3 separate regions of the Homo sapiens genome follow, and regions 1 and 2 are each linked to region 3. The links are contacts of gene promoters, found by promoter capture Hi-C in human tissues and cell types (Jung and others, 2019). All regions are on one chromosome and are shown on one strand. Each heading gives the region's core, a stretch centred on a gene start or on the middle of the fragment in contact. The rest is flanking DNA. Distances are from core to core; before and after follow the strand shown. Region 1 has its middle 27 kb from the start of LINC00951. Region 2 overlaps ZFAND3 (zinc finger AN1-type containing 3). Region 3 holds the start of SAYSD1 (SAYSVFN motif domain containing 1).

What was found. The method cuts DNA at HindIII sites, captures the fragments that hold promoters and counts their contacts. A contact is called where the count stands out against the background at its distance.
Region 1: a fragment that was not itself captured here is called in contact with the fragment with the promoter of SAYSD1 in region 3 in 1 of the 25 tissues and cell types used here (pancreas).
Region 2: a contact is called between a fragment that was not itself captured here and the fragment with the promoter of SAYSD1 in region 3, in 1 of the 25 tissues and cell types used here (hippocampus).

What each region holds. Positions count from the first base shown.
Region 1 is chr6:40,326,763-40,330,276 of GRCh38, reverse strand. No RefSeq gene overlaps it. Among named protein-coding and RNA genes, the nearest start is that of LINC00951, 27 kb to the left of the region's middle. RefSeq lists an enhancer at 1-590. The HindIII fragment of the contact is 4,594 bases long and covers 1-3,514 here.
Region 2 is chr6:37,999,701-38,003,026 of GRCh38, reverse strand. The region is part of intron 2 of ZFAND3 (zinc finger AN1-type containing 3); the gene reads right to left. It also overlaps the pseudogene ITGAEP1. Among named protein-coding and RNA genes, the nearest start is that of ZFAND3, 180 kb to the right of the region's middle. The HindIII fragment of the contact is 5,667 bases long and covers 1-3,326 here.
Region 3 is chr6:39,113,827-39,117,409 of GRCh38, reverse strand. It overlaps SAYSD1 (SAYSVFN motif domain containing 1), which reads left to right and starts at 2,224. Exons shown (of 2, transcript NM_018322.3): 1 at 2,224-2,527. The coding sequence starts at 2,321. RefSeq lists an enhancer at 2,341-2,630. The HindIII fragment of the contact is 12,223 bases long and covers 1-3,583 here.

The DNA.
Region 1 (3,514 bases), core at 436-2,935, 1.2 Mb before region 3:
GCTGCTGGGAGAAAAAGCAGTGAGTGGGTGGGTGTAGCTCCCCACTGGCTGCCCCAGATCTTGACAGGCTGGGCTGGTAAGTCTGTCCCTCCTGAGCTGTGTGGTTGGGGAAGCTTACCTTCCCTGAGGAAGCCTGGCTTCCTCAGCAATAAGTGGGAATCACAAGAAGCCCCACTTTATAGATCAGTATGCATGCATGTGAACAGTTCAAGACTGACTGTTAAGTTGAAGAAAGCAAATTGCAGCAAAGCATAATTTCATTTTTTAAAAATGTACAATCATATTTGCAAACCCATGGGAAAGTCTAGAAAAATACATATCAAACTGTTAAGAGTAGTTACCTTGGGGAGAGAGAGGTGGGATTATAAGATACTTTTACTTTCAATATTGTGAATATTGTGAATTTCTATATTGTTTGATTTTTAAAATAATGAGTATTTATTACTTTTGTAATTGGAAAGCCTCCATTAAAAAAAAATCTGCTTCAAATGGCTAGTGTCAGCCTTCTGGACCACATGGGGAGAGAGGGATTTCCATACGGTCCCTTCTAAGCAGCACAGGCCACAGGGGCTGGGGGCAGAAGCCCTGGCTGAGGGGCTTAGCTCTGCCACGCAGTCCTGCGCAGGTTCCTCCATCTTCCTGAGCCCCTGGTTTCTCATCAGCAAAATGGGAATAATAACAACCTGAATCAGGAGGTCACCATCCAGGGAACACCATGAGGACTGAGTGATAGCACCTTCGCCCAAGCCCGGACACTCCGCTCCTCCCCAGAGAAAAGGAGGAGGGCAGGGCTGCAGGAGGGCCTGGGAACTCTGCTAGGCTTCTTAGGGTAGCACTGAAAGCTCCCACAGTTGGGCATTCCTCAGACCAGGAAAGGAGAGGAACAGAACCTGGTGCCTGGAATATGACAAAGTCAACTTACCCTATGTTCCACTCTAAATCTTTCATGCCTCCCAACCTCTGCTCATGCTGATCCCACTCCCGGGCTTGCTGTTCCTGCCTCCTGATTTGCCCTTGTCTCCCTCACCTGCTGCTTCCTACTCACCTTTCAGGAATCCTCTAGGAATCTTCCCTGAGCCCCTGGTGAAGTTGGGGGCAGGGAGCCCCTCTTGGCTGTTACATCAGCAGGCTGCATTTCTCTACCCTCCTGGGCTCACCTACTGCACAGTAATTACCTGTCTCCTCTTTGAGACTAAGAAGTGGGCAGGTAGGGGTCTTATTCACCTTTGAATCCCCAGCAGCTGGCAGAGTGCCAGGCACTTATTTTTACCTACCTTTTCCCTTGTAAACCTTTTGACATAAACCTCTTAGATTATCCTGGGATTTCCTAGTTGGCTCCTTTCTGCCAAGTGCGATCTGGCAGGACTATAAGGAAGGCAGAGGTAGGAGTGGGCTGGAGAGCTGGGGTGGCAGTGAGGGCATGGTGCCCTCTTGCGGCCAGGTGCAGGGGTGGCTGCAGCATCCTTACGGAAGAAAGGGAGGAGAGGACAGGTGGGCCGGTGAGCTAGATAAGATAGAGGAGGGTCTCTAGGAACAAGTAGAGGAGTGGGGAGATCACTGCATTGGCAGTTTCCCCAGCACAGCTAGGAGTGGTCCTTCTTCCATAGATCCCAGTGAGGGGCTGTGGCTTAGCTTAAAAGCATGAGAAAAGTTGGAGGAAGCCCAGAGACTGCTCCCTTGTGGAGAGGAGGACGCCACTTGGAGGTGCGTCAGGGAAATGCTTAGGCAGGAGGATGGACGCAGAGGTCCTAGAGGTGTGTGACCTGGGAGAGGGACATTGGTGCAAGGCTCCTGCTCACACATTGATGGAAGCCTGAGAATCGAGAGGCCCTCCAGCGAGGGAAACCAGACCGGCTTTCTCCGGCAGGGAACGCATACTTGGAAGCCTCTTGATCCTCCTCTCTGCTCCAGCCCTTACCGTGAGTAGGTCTTCAGCACACTGGATACCATTTTGTGCTTTGAGATGTTGGTGAGGGACCTGGAGGGGGCTCAGGCATCCTCTGGGGTATACACATCTGTTTCCAGGTGACATCTCTAGGACATCACACCCCGTTCACAGTACCTCCTCTATCTGCCCCCAGAACCCCACTCTTCCTGTGGTTTCAGAGATTAACTGGCGGAAGGGGCAGGTGAGAATGTAGGAAGTGGGGAAATCTAGGGAAGGTGGGTGGATGAAGCCAGCCAGCTAGGAAAGTGCTGACCCCAAAGGAGCCCCCCATGAGAGGCCCCCCTCAGCAGCCCTGCCTCCCACACCAGCCCTCTACCCTTAGCTCTCTCTAAAACAACAGAAAATCTTGCCTGGCTCCTCTCACCACCCAGCCCAAGAGAGGGAAAGCTTTCTTTTCTCTTTTCCTTCCTGCCCCTTCCCCATTTCTGGCCCCATCACCCCTTTCCAGGCCTCTATCCTTCTGTGTTCATCCTGACCTCTTCCCTGGCCTCGTGGCTCTCACTTTGAGAGTCAAACATGAGCTGGTTGGAGGAACACTGGGTCAGACATCCAGGGACCTGGGTATGCTGCTGATTTCACCACTGATGTTCTAATTTCTGAAAGCTCCCCAGAGCTCAGTGTCTTCACTTGCAAAGGGTTGGGAGGTTGGATTGGATAATCTGCCACAATCCTTTTAGTTCTGACATCCTGGGATGCATTAGGCTCCGTCAATCCTTGGCGACCCCTTTCCTAAAGCTGATCCCAGGGTCATAGTTAGAATGCATCAACTGCCTTAACTGATGTGAGACATTTCCTAGGGATATAGCCATATGGGAGATAACCTAGAGGAAATGTGAAAAGTATCCAATTCCTGAAACATCACTGTTTCCTCATGCCATGTGAGGAATCCCCACCCACAGAAGTCATCTGCTCCAGCCCCTGCATCAGGCCCAGAAACCAGAGCAGACAGACCCTGCTCACACTCTTTCCTTGCTTGTCATATGACCCAGGGACAGTATCAGATAGTTCCTGCCTTTACAGCCCTCTAGGACTTCACATTTCCAGTCATCCTCATGCCTGGCCCCTTGTGGGACAAGGGAGGGGTCTACCAGGGCCTCCTGAGCAGGGGGGCAGCCAAGGGAAGTACTTAGTTCACCAGAAGCCTTCATCAAGTTTCACTTCCTGGAGTCTAACTTAAACCTTTCTTGCTGCTGTATAAATCAATGTCCCCCAGTTCTGGCTTCCCCACCCTCCTCAAACTAAAGAGCTGCTCATTTGCATACAGCTGCCTCTCCCAGACCCATTTAACTCCCACCTCTCCTGGACTTTTCCTACAGGTTCTATTTTTTTCAACCTTTCATCATTTCTCCTATTGGCTCTGGCTGTGCTCCAGAGCTTCCAAATCCTTCTTAAATGTGACAGCTAAAATTAGATGCCGGGAGAAGGCCAAGTGCAGTGGGATGATCACACCCTGCCTGGCATGTGCCGATTCCTCCTTCCTGGGTCCTGTCCCAGCATGGAAGAGGCTGGTCCTTCCCTAAGGATGTTATTAGACTCCCAGTCCCCTATGATCCTGGGTCCCGTTGG
Region 2 (3,326 bases), core at 141-2,640, 1.1 Mb after region 3:
ATCATTGGAGGCAACGTTGATGGCCTTCTGGTTTTGATAATTATAGTCATTCTGTCCAAGTGTGGCATTTTCCCCCCAGCCCTCTTCTCGTGTTAGCAAGGTATGTGGCTTTTTAAAAAGAAAATATCAATAATTGAACTTAGCATAGGGAAGGCCCAGATGAAGCCAGCGAATCTGCTCACAGAAAAAAAATAAGATCTGCTCTCTCATCTACTGGGAGATAATATCAACCAATCCTCGAAATTCTAAAGACTTGGTGTCGTACTGATTGCTTTTTCCTTTAGGATGATCTAGAGTAGCATCGAACAAATTGTGGACTATCATAGGGTGTTTTATTTTGTTTTTATTGTTGTTGTTTTTTTGAGACAGGGTCTCACTCTTTCACCCAGGCTGCAGTGCAGTGGCAATTGCAACCTCCACCTCCTGGGCTCAAGTGATTCTCCCACCTCAGCCTCTTGAGTAGCTGGGACTACAGGCACAACACCGAGCCAGGCTAATTTTTGGATTTTTTGTAGAGACGGGATTTCACCATATTGCCTAGCCTTGTCTCGGATTCCTGGGTTCAAGCAATCCGCCCGCCTCAGCCTCTCAAAGCGCTGTGATTACAGGTGTGAGCCAACATAACTGGCCTAGAATATCGTGTTGTAACCACATATTTTCCCAAAACTGTATGCACTGTGCAAAAAGTAAACCTGGGAAACATTTGATGTTAAACTGTTTTCTTTAAAAAAAAAAAAAAAAGAAAAGAAAATACAGTAGTGTAATTTAGAACTAAACTATAAGCTTCCTGAGGGTATCATCTTTGTATCCATTATGTCTTCATTGAGCTTGCAAGTATTTATTGTTGAACTAAGCCTAGTTTATGTTTCTATAGGCTTAGTACGCATGAATATTTATAGTATATCTTCTTAAGGAAAACAACATCTCTTGAGTATTCTATAATTCAGCCGTTTTATTGAATAGGACAAAATCTCAGGCTTTCTGCATTTAAAATGTTCACACTTGACTGTATTTTCACTGGTAAAAATGTACTTCTCTAGTAATACAATAAATTTGATCAAGGATGCTAAACTCTGTATTCACCTAATATATCAATATTTAGACTAAAAGAAAAGACTAAAAGACAAAAAGAAAAGATAACAGACCAACAGCCATAACTCAATTCTCTTGTGTGCAACTACTTTTTACTCCTAGGGACAAAGGAGTTGCCTTTACTTTTATTCCTCTGACCTTCTCTACAGAGCTTGCCGGAAGCTATGGGAATGCACAAATACATGTTTATCCATGTTCTGAAAGAGGTTTTCCAAGCTGAATAAACCAGACATCTCACTCCACCAACTACATCATACAAATTTAGTTTATTTACATATGACCAAGGGATGAATTAATGGCTGAAAAAAAAAGTGCTAACATCAACCCTGTGATTTTATGAAGTAAAAAGTAATTCTAAATTCTAGAGCTCTGAACCTTTGGCCAAAAGCCCACTAAAAGATAAGACTGTAATAGAGTTTATGTTGCTCTGCTCTGTGCAAAGATCCTAGGAAAAATAAATGAACTGGGCAGGAAAGAACACCAGGATGGAGATCATTTGTAACAGAACACAGACTGTCTTACAAGATACATTTGCATCAGCCCTTCAGTTCCCAGTCCTAACTATGATTTCAGGAGCACCTTGTGCCTTCCAGAAGGTCAAACACTAGTAGTAATGGATCTGTGAAGAGGAGAGCAGTGAACCAGTGTCAGAAATAACAAAGCATTGTTTCTAGGGGATTATTATTCAACTGGAAGTTGGGACTGTCCTACTCCAGGTCAAGAGAAAGTAACTTATTTAAAAGAATGAATAAAAATGAGTTAGAATACTTTCTACACTAAGGGTGGTCAGAGTTATTTTGAAGATTTTTTAAAAATCTCCTTAGTAAAAGGATATACAAGCATTCTTGCATTTCTAAATTACCCTGCATTCTTCAACCTATTCTCCTTCAAGTGTGATTAGAGCGAACTCTGAGCTTTATTCAGTGCATCAGAGGAAGGTCCAGTGCCTATAATTTTCTCATTCATGAATATTTCTACTTCTAAAAAGAAAGAAGCATTAAGCAGAAGGTAGGCGCAAGACTCAGTCAGTGATATGGTTTGGTTGTGTCCCCACCCAAATCTCATTTTGGAATAAAAGTAAAGACAACTCCTTTGTCTCTAGGAGTAAAAAGTAGTTACACACAAGAGAACTGAGTTATGGCTGTTGGTCTGATATCTTTTCTTTTTGTCTTTTAGTCTTTTCTTTTAGTCTAAATATTGATATATTAGGTGAATACAGAGTTTAGCATCCTTGATCTAATTTATTGTTTTACTAGAGAATAATTCCTACGTGTCATGGGAGGGACAAGTGGGAGGTAACTGAATCATGGGGGCAGGTCTTTCCCAGGCGGTTCTCCTGACAGTAAATAAGTTAAGTCTCATGAGATCTGATGGTTTCATAAAGGGGAGGTCCCTTACACGAGCTCTCTTGCCTGCCACCATGTAAGATGTGTCTCTGCTTCTCCTTTGTCTTCTGCCATGATTGTGAGGCCTCCCCAGCCATGCCAAAATGTGAGTCCATTAAACCTCTTTCCTTTATAAATTACCCTGTCTTGGGTATGTCTTTATTAGCAGTATAAGAATGAACTAATAAATACAGTCAGGATCTATGAAATTTTCGCTCTTTCACAAATTTGTTTGGAGGGCATGGGAAATACAGTTTCTCAATTTCAGAATTAGATGAGAAGAATTTATAATTAATTAATGGAAGGTGCTATGGGTCTCGCAAATGATCAATATCAATCTGAGATCAACATCATCTCAAAACCTCTCAGGATCATCACAGTAAGTTTTTTGGTTTGTTTGGTATCTGAATTTGCTTTTATTTTTTTAAAAATTGTTTAAACTCCAATAGGGGGATAAGTAAAAGCAATTCTACTTGTGCCACCCAGAAGTATTTTCCTTTTTTAAAAAAGCTTTATTTATTTTTTCCTTCTAATCAATGGAATCTATAAAGCTTTATTTTTTAGTAATAGTTTTAGATTTATAAAAAGGTTGCCAGGATAGTACAGAGAATTCCCATATACTCAGGAGCCAATTTCTCCTATCATTAATATCTTACACTAGTATGGTATATTTGTTACAATTAACGAGCCAATATTGACACCCTATTAACTAAAGTCCACACTTGCTCAGATTTCCTTAGTTTTTACCTGATGTTCTTTTCCCATTCCAGGATCTCATCCAGGACACCACATTAGATTTAGTTGTCATGTCTCTTTATGTTCCTCTTAGCTGTGATAGTTTCTTAGATA
Region 3 (3,583 bases), core at 975-3,474:
TCTCTTACAAACCATCTCTAATCCACTCAGGGCTCAGCCCTCAAATCTCTTCTTATCCACACTCACTGTTTGATCTTATCTAGTCTTACAGCTTTAAATATACACATGCTGATGACTCCCAGTGTGTGCCTCCGGTCCTGACTTTCCCCTCAAATCATTTTCACTATCTAACTGCCTATTTTTTGGATATCCAATAGGCATCCCAAGTTCTTTGTATGTCCAAAACAAAACTTCCAGTGTTTATTCTGTAATTCTCTCCTCCCAGTGTGCCCTCATTTCAATAGAGGGCCCCAGCATCATTTGCCTGGTTGCTCAGGGCATGTGTGTATGTATATGGGGGGGCAGGAGGAGTGGGGTAGTAATGGAAGAAACCTGTCATCCTTTTTTTTTTTTTTTTTTTTTAATAGCGATGAGGTCTTGCTATGTTCCCCAGGCTGGTCTTGAACTCCTAGGTTCAAGCGATCCCCCTGCCTTGGCCTCCCAAAGTGCTGGGATTATAGGCGTGAGCCACGATGGCTGGCCCTGTCATCCTTGATACCTTTTTTCCTCACATTCCACATCCAATCCGTCTCACACCATGTTGGCTCAGGTCTTCAAAATACATTCAGAATCTGACCAATTCTCGTGACCTCCATCACTACCACTCTAGCTCAAACTACTACAGTTTCTCATTCTACCATATTTATTCCTAACTAGTTTCCCTTCTTCTATTCTTGCAATCTTCCAGGGTCCCACCTCCATCAGCCAGTGTAATCCTTTAAAAATATGTCATATCATATCATCTCCTGCTCAAAATCCACTAACTGCTTCCCACCACACTTAGTCTTCACCATGGCCTACAGGGCCTTACATGCACGATCTTGCCCCTGGCATCTTTATTTTCTGTCACTCTTTCCTCCCTCCCTCCCTCCCTCTCTCCCCCTCTCTCCCTCCTTCCCTCCTTCCCTCCCTCCCTCCCTGCCTCCCTCTCCCTCCTTCCAATCCAGTCATAACAGCCTCCCTGATGTTCTGTGAACAAGTCAAGCGTGCTATTTGAGGCCTCGGGACCTTTGCACTTGTTCCTCTGACTGAAACACTCCTGTTCAGATATCTACATACCTCACTCATTTAAGTCTATGCCCAAATGACAAACCTTCAGGGAGGTCTTCTCTAATACCTCCACCATTGCCTACTTTGCTTCACTTTTCTTCACAGCACTTATCAGTACCTGATATGACATGAAATATGTAGATACACATTTGTTTATTGTCTGTATTTCCATTTGGAGTGTAAGCTCTAAGAAAACAGGTTTTTGTTTGTTTTTTCCTTTCATCCCAGCATCCCCAGTGCCTGTGACTTTAGACAGAGCAGGCCCTAGGTAAACGTCTGTTAAATGAATGGATGACTCTGTTCTAATTTGTCTAATTTCTCGAGTCACCCTCAGCCAGATCCAACAAATATTTGAGTCTTAATTATGTAAGTGACACTTAGCTAGATGCTTACAGCTTTAAGAACGTATAAAACAGCCCCTAACCTGAACTGTGTCCTTTTGGGAGGGTACTGATTGGGAGAGGGCACAAGGAAACTCCCAGAGTACAGAAATGTTCTTTCTCTCCATCTGGGTGGTAGTTACACAGGTGCATACATAAGAGCAAATCTACTGAGTCATATTCTTAAGATGTGTATTTTATGTTGCACCCCAATAAAAGTTTTTGTTGTTGGTTTTTTTAAGGTTCTGACGTATCTAGACACAAAACGAGATAATTTCCCAACGTGGCAAGACCAATGATGGAGCTGCACAGCCTGCTTTGTGAGCAGTGAGAAAGTCACCCTCCAGGTACTAAGATTGGCATACCCTTTCCTTGATAAGAGAAAAAGGGTAAGATGTAGCCTGTTATTCCTCTGACGCTGGAATGTCGTAGAGATCACGGGCCTCTCCTAACCCCTGGAACCATCTTCTCACTGTGGCGCTGTTCATTGGGGCCCAGCAACAGAGATCCCGAATACAGGACGCTGGATCAGTGGGGCCTCGAGCCCTTAAGTGAGATGCAGCAAGGCAGAGCGGCCTTTGGGAGAGGGCAATGGGGCAGCCCTGTGCTTTAGACTTGGCTTGAGGAGGTGACACTGTGTCCACGTGCCTGTGAAGAGAGAACGGCTGAGTATACACGCGACCCGCCAGACTTCACAAACGGAGGAGACGCGGGTCACACCAGTGCGCATGCTCAGCAGGGGCTTCTGCCACGCAGGCGCACGGCGGCCGGCGCGGGCCGAGCGGAGGCAACTGCTGTGCGGCCTGCGGGCGCGCGCTCCCTTATCGGCCAACGGACGCGAGGCGCGCGCCATGGAACAGCGGTTAGCTGAGTTTCGGGCGGCGCGGAAACGGGCGGGTCTGGCGGCCCAACCCCCTGCTGCCAGTCAGGGCGCACAAACCCCAGGAGAGAAGGCGGAAGCAGCAGCGACTCTAAAGGCAGCCCCAGGCTGGCTAAAGCGGTTCCTGGTATGGAAACCTAGGCCCGCGAGTGCCCGGGCCCAGCCCGGCCTAGTTCAGGTGAGACGATGGAAACTTCGGCCCTAGGACCTGGCCTCGGAGCCACAGTCGAGGGCGCGGCCCTAGCTGCCGGGGGTGTGGCCCTAGCTGCCGGAGGCGGGGCTACTGGCCCCCCATCCTGATCGAGGGCCGGACCGCTCATCTCCGGCCACACGTGTCAGCACTGTTACCAGTTTTGACATTTTCTTTCCAGCCCGCGACCCACGCAGGTCCTGATTCCAGCGAGAGTCGAGGGTCCTGGGAGAAAGCACCTCTGCTCTTAAATTATTCACTCCGAATTGAGTTATCGTGACGCCCTGTGGCATTGGGAAACCTCTCCACAACCAAGTTGAGCCACAGCCCTCTGCTAATGGAGGAGGGTAAAAGGTCTAATTGGATACCGATCACAAGTAGCAGTAATTAAAACTTCATTTGATTCGCACCTGGGGCACATGCAGCTAGTAGCCCAGATAGCCTGTGACTTAGAAATGCGTTTGAATACAGAATTTACCAAAGTGTGGTAGCTGTAACTGCCGGTAGTGGCAGAAGCTTATTCCAGTTCCATAGTGAATGTTCAAGACACAAACAAAAAAAAGTGATTTAGTATGATAACCTTTTCACATTTAATTGTTTTGGTAATCTCTTGTTTTGCAGATGAATTTAATTTGCATCCTTTTGTGTTTTCATTTAGTTTTAACTCAGTAAAATGGTAAGGTGGCTTGCAGTGAGGTTGAAATGTCTATGTGGAAATACAAGACAAAACATATCAAGGGATGAGTGCTTTGTAACAATTTGTGCCCAGTGCTTTGTTCCTCATAAGTGCAATAAGAACTAAAAAATTCCTTTTAAAATGAAAATATACTGGAAGAAAAGTGTACCTTGCTCACCTTAAAATTATTTCCTGTAAGTTCATCTATTATTGCACAACATTTGATTTGAGGGAATTTTTAAAAATTACTGAACCTATTACTCAATTTTGATTTGATATTCTCAGTGATATACAGGATTCCAGCTGACTTGCAGAAAGGTGAAAAGAGCGCAGCAGAGTTCAGACAATCCATTTCCTTGTGTGCAGTT